Linked DNA regions of Homo sapiens: region 2 is linked to region 1. Evidence: promoter capture Hi-C in human tissues and cell types (Jung and others, 2019). All regions are on one chromosome and are shown on one strand. The core of a region is centred on a gene start or on the middle of the fragment in contact, and the rest is flanking DNA. Distances in the headings are between cores, read along the strand shown. Region 1 holds the start of GPATCH8 (G-patch domain containing 8). Region 2 overlaps EFTUD2 (elongation factor Tu GTP binding domain containing 2).

What was found. The method cuts DNA at HindIII sites, captures the fragments that hold promoters and counts their contacts. A contact is called where the count stands out against the background at its distance.
Region 2: a fragment that was not itself captured here is called in contact with the fragment with the promoter of GPATCH8 in region 1 in 1 of the 25 tissues and cell types used here (small bowel).

The regions. Positions count from the first base shown.
Region 1 is chr17:44,502,035-44,507,016 of GRCh38, forward strand. It overlaps GPATCH8 (G-patch domain containing 8), which reads right to left and starts at 1,372. Exons shown (of 8, transcript NM_001002909.4): 1 at 1,292-1,372. The coding sequence starts at 1,336. RefSeq lists an enhancer at 1,106-1,205 and a silencer at 1,306-1,655. The HindIII fragment of the contact is 22,919 bases long and covers 1-4,982 here.
Region 2 is chr17:44,894,835-44,898,675 of GRCh38, forward strand. All of the region lies in intron 1 of EFTUD2 (elongation factor Tu GTP binding domain containing 2), which reads right to left. Among named protein-coding and RNA genes, the nearest start is that of EFTUD2, 2.7 kb to the right of the region's middle. The HindIII fragment of the contact is 4,028 bases long and covers 125-3,841 here.

The sequences.
Region 1 (4,982 bases), core at 122-2,621:
GTATTGTGCTGCAGCTATACAGCAGGCGCATGATCACAAGGCTTTTTAACAGCCCCCAGATCCCTTACTGCTGCAAAACTTCTCATAAGCGTTCTATGTACTAGACTGTTAACAGTGCTGAGTTAAAATTGTTAAACTGCTTTACCTATTTATTTACCAATCCTATCATCTCAGGGAATTCAAACTCTTTAAACTGCCTTCTGAAACACATCTAGAGTGCTTTCGTACTGCTTTGAGTAGGATCTGCAGCGGGATAAAAACTTGAGTTCTGAGATTCATCCCGACCCAAATTGCAGTTGCCAGGATATGCGGTAGTAATGCAGTGTTTTTTTTTTTTTTTTGAGACTCTACGGATGTATTTTACCTAGAAATAGCCAATCTCTACTAAATCCCTTTTAGTCTTCGAGATTTCCGCGGTAACAATTTCAACAGAAAGGTATTTTCAACAGCGAAAAAACAAGTTATTCTAATTTGGCCTTTATTTTTTACTCAATAGAGCTTGCCATCGTAAGGGCATTTTTCCATACTAACATTTGCAATTGAAGAAAGAAAAATCAAGCTTTTGGCACTAGTGACCCCATGCGTGGACGGCCTATTATCATCACGCTTCTCACAAATCTTTCGAGATAGGATTTGAGGTTAGGCTCACATCGGATCATAGTCCAGTAACTTACTGCTTTCCAAGCCCAATTAACAGCCTAATAACAGCAACACTTATGCCCCGCGAAATCTCAATGTATGACTAACCAATAAGGCGTCTGATAGCGAAGGCAACCTTTTCCCAGGTAAGGAAGAGGAAAAGCAGACAATGAAAGGAATTGATTTATCACAGTGAAGAAAGAAAAGAGAAGGACCCCAAAAGGATCCGTGAGAGCAAAATCCCGGGGTTCGGAAGCCTTGGCCTCAGCAATACTCTCCCCCAAGCCCTCTCAGCCCAACCCAACCACCCCTCTTGTCCCCTGGGAGCCAGCCCTTCGCCGGCACAGATCGGGCAGACCTGGAGGGCACAGCCCCTCACACGGCGCTCAGGCCCGGTTCCGAAATCCGATGCCAAACAGGCGGAAGCCGCAAGCCCCGCGGCCTGAGTTTCAGGGGTAAGAGAATGCGGGTGCGAGGAGATGCGGCCTCCCTCAAGCCGGGAGGCCTCTTGAGAAAGCAGAGACGGGAGAAGAGCGAGCTGGTTCGCAAGTCGGAGCAAAACTGGAAGGAAAGAGGGCTGGGAGCCGGAGATGAAGGAGGTTCTGGGCTAGACCAGCGCCTTCCCCGCATCCTCGGCGACGCCCGTGTTTACCTGAAAGTCTCGGTCTTCGTTGAAGCGGGAGAAGCGGTCCGCCATTTTGCCGCCTTCACTCCTCTCAGGACGACGCTCTCCGGTTCGCTCCTTCCCTCCTGCGACACCCACCCCTCCCCGGTTCCCCGCCTCCTCCCACGCCCACCGGGCGCGCGCAGCCGAGGGAGGGAGCGAGAATGCGCGTCCTGACGGGAGCCCCGCGGCGCAGGCGCCTGCCAGCCCTGGAGGCTGACCCTTCCCTCTAGCCCCTGCTCCGCGCGCGACCCGGAGCGACCCCGGTGGCCGCGCGTGCGCACTCCCGCCCGAGAGCCGCGAGAGCTTCCGGAGGGAAAGGTCAGAGGGGGCACCGTGCGGACAAATCTGGATGTTTTGCTGTTGCTCACTTCCGGGTGTCTTTTCTCACTGTTGCTTCCCCGTGTGCGCAGAAGTCCATCGTCTTCACTAAATAGCAGCATAATGTTGGGCCGAAAGCGCGACCTTAGAGCCAGACTGCTTAGCTTCGAATCTCAGCTCACCCTGAGGATTCAACGGTGAACGAGACAGGAATGATCTCCTCTTATGGGGATTTCATTCCAGTGGAAGAACTCACATAACTCGTAAAATAAATATTTTTAAATATCAACAAGTGCCACAAAAAAGTAAAACTGGCCACAGTGCTGAGAGGGACAGTCTCTGAAAGGACCTTTGACCGAGGCACAGCGAGGAGCCTACAGCATTGGGGCATAGGGAACGTTAGACCCAAAGGCCCAAAGACTGCAAGGAGCTTGACTTCGAGCCATCCTTTGAGAGAAGTATTTCACAAGGGACCGAAGTTGATCCAGATCGACTAAAGCTCTCTGGGCTTCAGTTTCCTTTTTATACAATAGGGAAATTGGATTCAGTAATCTCTGATGCTCCTGCCTAGCGCTGACTATGAGAGTCAAGAATCGGATTTTTCCATCCCTTCTGAGGACCTCACCCAGTGCTCCAGGACTCTTAGCCAAAATACATAAAACACATAGAAGGGTGGCAGGACTTCTCTCCTTTTGAAAAGAGTAGTTGACAGAAATCACACAATGGAAAAATGGGTCTTACCCTGCCCTGAAAGAGTCAAATGGAATGTAATTTTTTGAGGAAGGGTGTGTATTTTCTAGCTGTTACCCTTTGCCCCACCCATGCTTCAGCCTACGCTTCCATCTAAGGGGAGGCAGGGCACACAGAATTCAAACATTGTATTCTTTTTTTTTTTTTTTTTTTGAGACGGAGTCTCGCACTGTCGCCGGAGTACAGTGGCGCAATCTCGGCTCACTGCAACCTCCGCCTCCCAGGTTCAAGAGATTCTCCTGCCTCAGCCACCCTAGTAGCTGGGATTACAGGCGCCCACCACTAAGCCCAGCTCATTTGTTTTTTTTTTTTTTTGAAAAGGAGTCTCACTCTGTCGCCCAGGCTGGAGTGCAGTGGCGCGATCTCGGCTCACTGCAAGCTCCGCCTTCCGGGTTCACGCCATTCTCCTGCCTCAGCCTCCCGAGTAGCTGGGACTACAGGCGCCCGCCACCAAGCCCGGCTAATTTTTTGTATTTTTAGTAGAGACGGGGTTTCACCGTGTTAGCCAGGCTGGTCTCGATCTCCTGACCTCGTGATCCGCCTGCCTCGGCCTCCCAAAATGCTGGAATTACAGGCGTGAGCCACCTCGCCCGGACTTTTTTTTTTTTTTTTTTTTTTGTATTTTTAGTGGAGGCGGGGTTCACCATGTTGGCAAGGCTGGTCTGGAACTCCTGACCTTGTGATCCGCCCGCCTCAGCCTCCCAAAGTGCTGAGATTACAGGCGTGAGCCACCGAGCCTGGCTCAAACATTGTAAAGAGACTTAAGGGTAGCGTGAAAGATTGAATCACGAGGATACACATCACACTGACCTCTTCTTCCTCTCAAAAGCCCACTGAAATGACAGCAGAGGAATAAGAAGTGCATAAATTCACATGGACAAAGAGACCTGGAGAAGAGACAATGGCAGACAACAGATGTCAACATTTTGGAGGCCAGAGAGCACAGATAAATGGAAATGACTTTAGTAGAGTGGAGAAAAAGAAGTCATAGAGTAGGAGAAGACAGGAAAGAAGTTGATCAATGCTAAAGTGCACCAGAAAGGCTCAGGAAGTAGAAGCCCCTGGTGCCACTGATGATTCGATGTCTCTTTTCCCACCCAGGTAGCAAACTAGAGGTTTTCCCTCTGGAAAGGCTGAACCAGAGAGACTGGACTTTATAGGTGAGAAGGAGCAACCATGCTGAAAATGGGAGGATATGGTAAAGCCTCCATTCTGGCCAGAGAGTCTGACTTCTCCAACAAAAGAACATAGGAACCCTCTCTAGAAAATTGACTAGCTTAGGGAAGAAAATGCTTCATGTACCAACAATGGGAGTGAGGGTAGGGAGGTGTCTTCCTACATAAAGATCATGTTCCTGCCCAAATACTCCACAGAGAAGTCCATCATTCAGGAAGCCCCATCCACACAGACCTTTCACTCAGCTTTTTAGTGCCTTGTTATGAATGGATAGCCAAAGAATGCCAGACATTTGAAGGGAACCTGTAACAGGAAAGATAGAAACACCCCCAGCCTGGGCATTGTAGTAAGACCCCAACTCTGCAAAAGAACTTTAAAACTAGGCGTGGTGGCATGCACCTGTGGTCCCAGCTACTTGGGAGGCTGAGGCAAGAGGATTGCTGAAGCCCAGGATTTGGAGGCTGCAGTGAGCTATGATGACAGCAACAGCCCCCCTCCCCCAAAAAACGAATTCAGAGGAACCAGAGATAATGAAAGGAACAGAAGAAACCATCAAAAGAATTATCAACATCCACGGAGACATTATATCACATCAGGGTACAAGGGAACACATCAGGAAATAAGAGACTGCATCAAGGGGCATGGGATGCCAAAAAAGAAAAAAGGATATTGAGTTTAAGAAAGAACTTTTGGCCGGCGCGGTGGCTCATGCCTATAGTCCCAGCACTTTGGGAGGCTGAGGCTGAAGCAGGCGGATTGCCTGAGGTCAGGAGTTCGAGACCAGTCTGGCCAACATGGTGAAACCCCGTCTCTACTAAAAATACAAAAAAATTAGCCGGGCGTGGTGGTGTGCACCTGTAATCCCAGCTACTCGGGAGGCTGAGGCAGGGGAATTGGGCGACAGAGCAAGACTCCATCTCAAAAAAAAAGAAATTTTGGGGCTGGGTGTGGTGGCTCATGCCTATAATACCACCACTTTAGGAGGCCAAGGCAGGTGGATCACTTGAGGTCAGGAGTTGGAGACCAGCCTGGCCAACATGGTGAAACTCCGTCTCTACTAAAAATACAAAAATTAGCCAGGCGTGGTGGTGAGTACCTGTAATCCCAGCTACTCAGGAGGCTGAGGCAGGAGAATCGCTTGATCCCAGGAGGTGGAGGTTGCAGTGAGCTGAGGCCACGCCACTGCACTCCAGCCTGGGTGACAAGAGCGACACTCCATCTGAAAAAAAAAAAAAATTAGCCGGCCAGGGTGGCGCATGTCTGTAATCCCAGCTACTCAGGAAATCACCCAGAAAACAGACTAAAAAGACGCCCTGGTCTAAACCACCTTTACTTTCTCCTGAATTATTGCAGTAGCTACTACGTGTTCTGCTTCTACCCTGGCAGCATACATGTTACAAAGGAGCTCTGGTGATCTGTTAAAGGTCAATCA
Region 2 (3,841 bases), core at 889-3,388, 390 kb after region 1:
CGTGGGGGGCGCTCCAAAGCCAAAAGAGGAGGTCCCCCTCCCTCCACTTTTTTAATACTAAATTTAATTTTAAAACAACTCAGTATCAAAAAATGGCAAGAACAGTACAAATAACTTACTTTTTCCTAAATTATTTGAAAGTGAGCTGTTGACACAATGGCTCATCACCTCCTAATACTTTAGTGTAAGGGTGGGCAAACTCTGGCCTGTGGCCAAATCTGGCCCCTCCAGCTGTTTTTACATGGCCCTCAAGCTAAGAATGCTTTTTCACATTTGTAAATTGCCAGGGAAAAAGTCAAAAGAAAAATATTTCATGATACATGAAAATTAATTATAAGGAATTCAAATGTCAGTGTCTATTAAAAAAGTTTCATTGGGAGGCCGGGCGCGGTGGCGCATGCCTGTAATACCAGCACTTTGGGAGGCCAAGGCAGGCAGATGACCTGAGGTCAGGAGTTCGAGACCAGCCTGGCCAACATGGCAAAACGCTGTCTCTACTAAAAATACAAAAATTAGCTGGGTACGGTGGCTCACACCTGTAATCCCAGCTACTCAGGAGGCTGATATAGGAGAATCCCTTGAACCCAGGGGGTGGAGGTTGCAGTGAGGCGAGATGGCACCACTGCACTCCAGCCTGGGAGACAGAACAAGACTCCATCTCAAAAAAAAAAAAAAAAAAAAAGTTTCACTGGAAAACAGCCATGCATATTCATTTGCATCATTTACAGTTGCCTTCACACTGTAATAGCAGAGTTGAATAGTTGAGACTGAAACCATATGGCTCACAAAGCCTAAAATATTATCCAGTCCTTAATAGAAAAAGTTTGCCAACCTCTCCCTCACCATGTGTAATTCCTACAAACAAGAACATTCTCCTACATAACCACAATACAACCATCAAAATCAGAAAATTGATATTCACACATTACTACCACCTTCTTTACAGATCCCATTCAAGTTTCACAGATTGTTCCAATAATACCTTACACACCTAAGGATCCAATCCAGGATCATGTTTGCATTTGGTTGTCATGTCTCTAGTCTCTTTGGATCTACAATCTTCAGTCTTTGGATCTACAATCTTCAGTCTTTCCTTCCAAGGACTGTCATGAAATCCTTAAGGATGTCCCTTGATTTGAGGTTGTCTGATGTTACCTTATGATAATATTCAGGTTATGCGTTTTGGGCAGGAATATCATAGAAGTGATGCTGTGTTCTTCTCAATGCATTTCGTATCAGGTGATACATGATTTCAATTTGCCCCATTAGTGGTAACGTTAACTTTGATCACTTCATTAAGGTGATGTTTGCCAGGCCTCTCCATTGTAAAGTTACTCATTTTCCCTTTGTAATTAAGTAGTGTTTTGTGGGTTTTCTCCACTTCAATTACTGAAATTCTATTCAAAGAAACAGTTCAAATGCCACCACCTCCTTCAAGCTTTCCTAGCTCCTCAATTTCTCATTCCTCTATCCTACTAGAGCTTTTTGCACCTTTATCAGTATTTAATTTTGTCTTAAATAGTAGTTAACTGGCTGGGCACAGTGGCTCATGCCTGTAATCCCAGCACTTTGGCAGGCCAAGATGGGCGGATCATGAGGTCAGGAGATAGAGACCATCCTGGCTAACACAGTGAAACCCCGTCTCTACTAAAAATACAAAAAATTAGCCAGGTGTGGTGGCACACACCTGTAGTCCCAGCTACTCAGCAGGCTGAGGCAGGAGAATCACTTGAATCCAGGAGGCAGAGGTTGCAGTGAGCTGAGATCGCACCACTGCACTTCAGCCTGGCTGACAGAGTGAGACTCCGTCTCGAAAAAAATAAACAAAATAAATAAACAAATAGTAGTTACTAATTACCATCACCAACTATAGTTTATAAGCAATAAATAACAGACTAGAGCATCAGGGCTCTGGAGTTGGAAGACTTAGATTCAAATCCCAACTTTGTCACCAACAACTATGTAACTTGAGGTAAGTTACTTCATCTCTTCCAACCTGATTCCTATTCTTCAACTGGAAAATGGAATGAATAATCCTCACTGAATAAATGGTTATGAGGATTAAATAAAACACCCTGTGTAAAGAATTTACCAGAGTCCAGCTGGGTGCAGTGGCTCACGCCTGTAATCCCAGCACTTTGGGAGGCTGAGGTGGGTGGATCACGAGGTCAGGAGATCGAGACCATCCTGGCTAACACGGTGAAACCCTGTCTCTACTAAAAATACAAAAAATTAGCCAAGTGTGGTGGTGGGCGCCCGTAGTCCCAGCTACTGGGGAGGCTGAGGCAGGAGAATGGTGTGAACCCAGGAGGCGGAGCTTGCAGTGAGCGGAGACAGCGCCACTGCACTCCAGCCTGGGTGACAGAGAGAGACTCCGTCTCAAAAAAAAAAAAAAAAAAAAAGAATTTACCAGAGTCCTAGGCTCAATAAACGTTAGCTAGCATTATTTTTTGCCATCCTTGATCATGAGAACCCTGTGTTCCATGCACCTGCTTCTTCTCTTCACTTCTTTTATGATACTAAATTTAATTTTAAAATAATACCAAAAAGTGGCAAGAACAGTACAAATAACTTTCTTTTCCCCAAATATTTGACAGTATGCTGCTGACACAATGCCTCTTCACCTCCTAATACTTTAGAGCAAGAGTTGACAAACTCTGACCTGTGGCCAAATCTGGCCCCTCCAACTGTTTTTGCATGGTCCTCCAGCTAAGAATGCATTTTACATTTTTATTTTTTTATTTTTTTGAGACGGAGTCCCGCTCTGTTGCCTAGGCTGGAGTGCAGTGGCACGATCTCGACTCACTGCAACCTCCGCCTCACAGGTTCAAGCGATTCTCCTGCCTCAACCTCCCAAGTAGCTGGGATTACAGGCACCCGCCATCACACTTGGCTAATTTTTGTATTTTTAGTAGAGACGGGGTTTCAACCATGTTGGCCAGGCAGTCTCGAACTCTTGACCTCAGGTGATTAGCCCACCTCGGCCTCCCAAAGTGCTGAGATTACAGGTGTGAGCCACCGCACCCGGCCACATTTTACATTTTTAAATAATTGAGAAAAAAGTACCAATGCTAACACAGCCAATAGCCAAGACAGCACCTTGCATAAGTAGGAACTGGATAAATGTTAACTGAATGGGATGTTTAATTTTAAGATGCTGATATTTCTTGGATTAGACTGATACCTCCAACTCCCTCAATGCCACCTGCTGGGTGCTGAATGTAGAGAGAGAATTGGAGCTCCAAGGACCAATAATTAAATGTAAATTATTATGGAAACTTTCACATGCATATTCTTTTTACTTCTAAAAAGCTACTATCGCATTTATGCTTATCTCATTCTCCCAAGACCCCAGTCAAGGGATTGAAGAAATTATTTATTTATTTTATATATATTTTTTGAGACAGAGTTTTGCTCTTGTTGCCCAGGCTGGAGTACAACGGCACGATCTCAGTTCACTGCAACCTCCGCCTCCTGGTTTCAAGCGATTCTCCTGCCTCAGCCTCCCGAGTAGTTGGGACTACAGGAGTGCACCACTACGCCTGGCTAATTTTTTTGTATTCTTAGTAGAGATGGGTTTTCACCATGTTGGCCAGGCTGGTCTCGAACTCCTGACCTCAGGTGATCCGCCCGCGTCTTTCTCCCAAAGTGCTGGGATTACAGGCGTGAGCCACCGCGCCCGGCCGATTGAAGAAACTGTTATAGAAAGCTGTTCATGGAACAAGCCAAGCTCATTTCTGCCTCAGGGCCACTGCACTTGCCTTTCTCTTTGTCCAAAACGCTCTCCCCTTTGATATTTTTCACCTTGTTCCTTTATTTCAATCAAGTCTCCACTAAAATG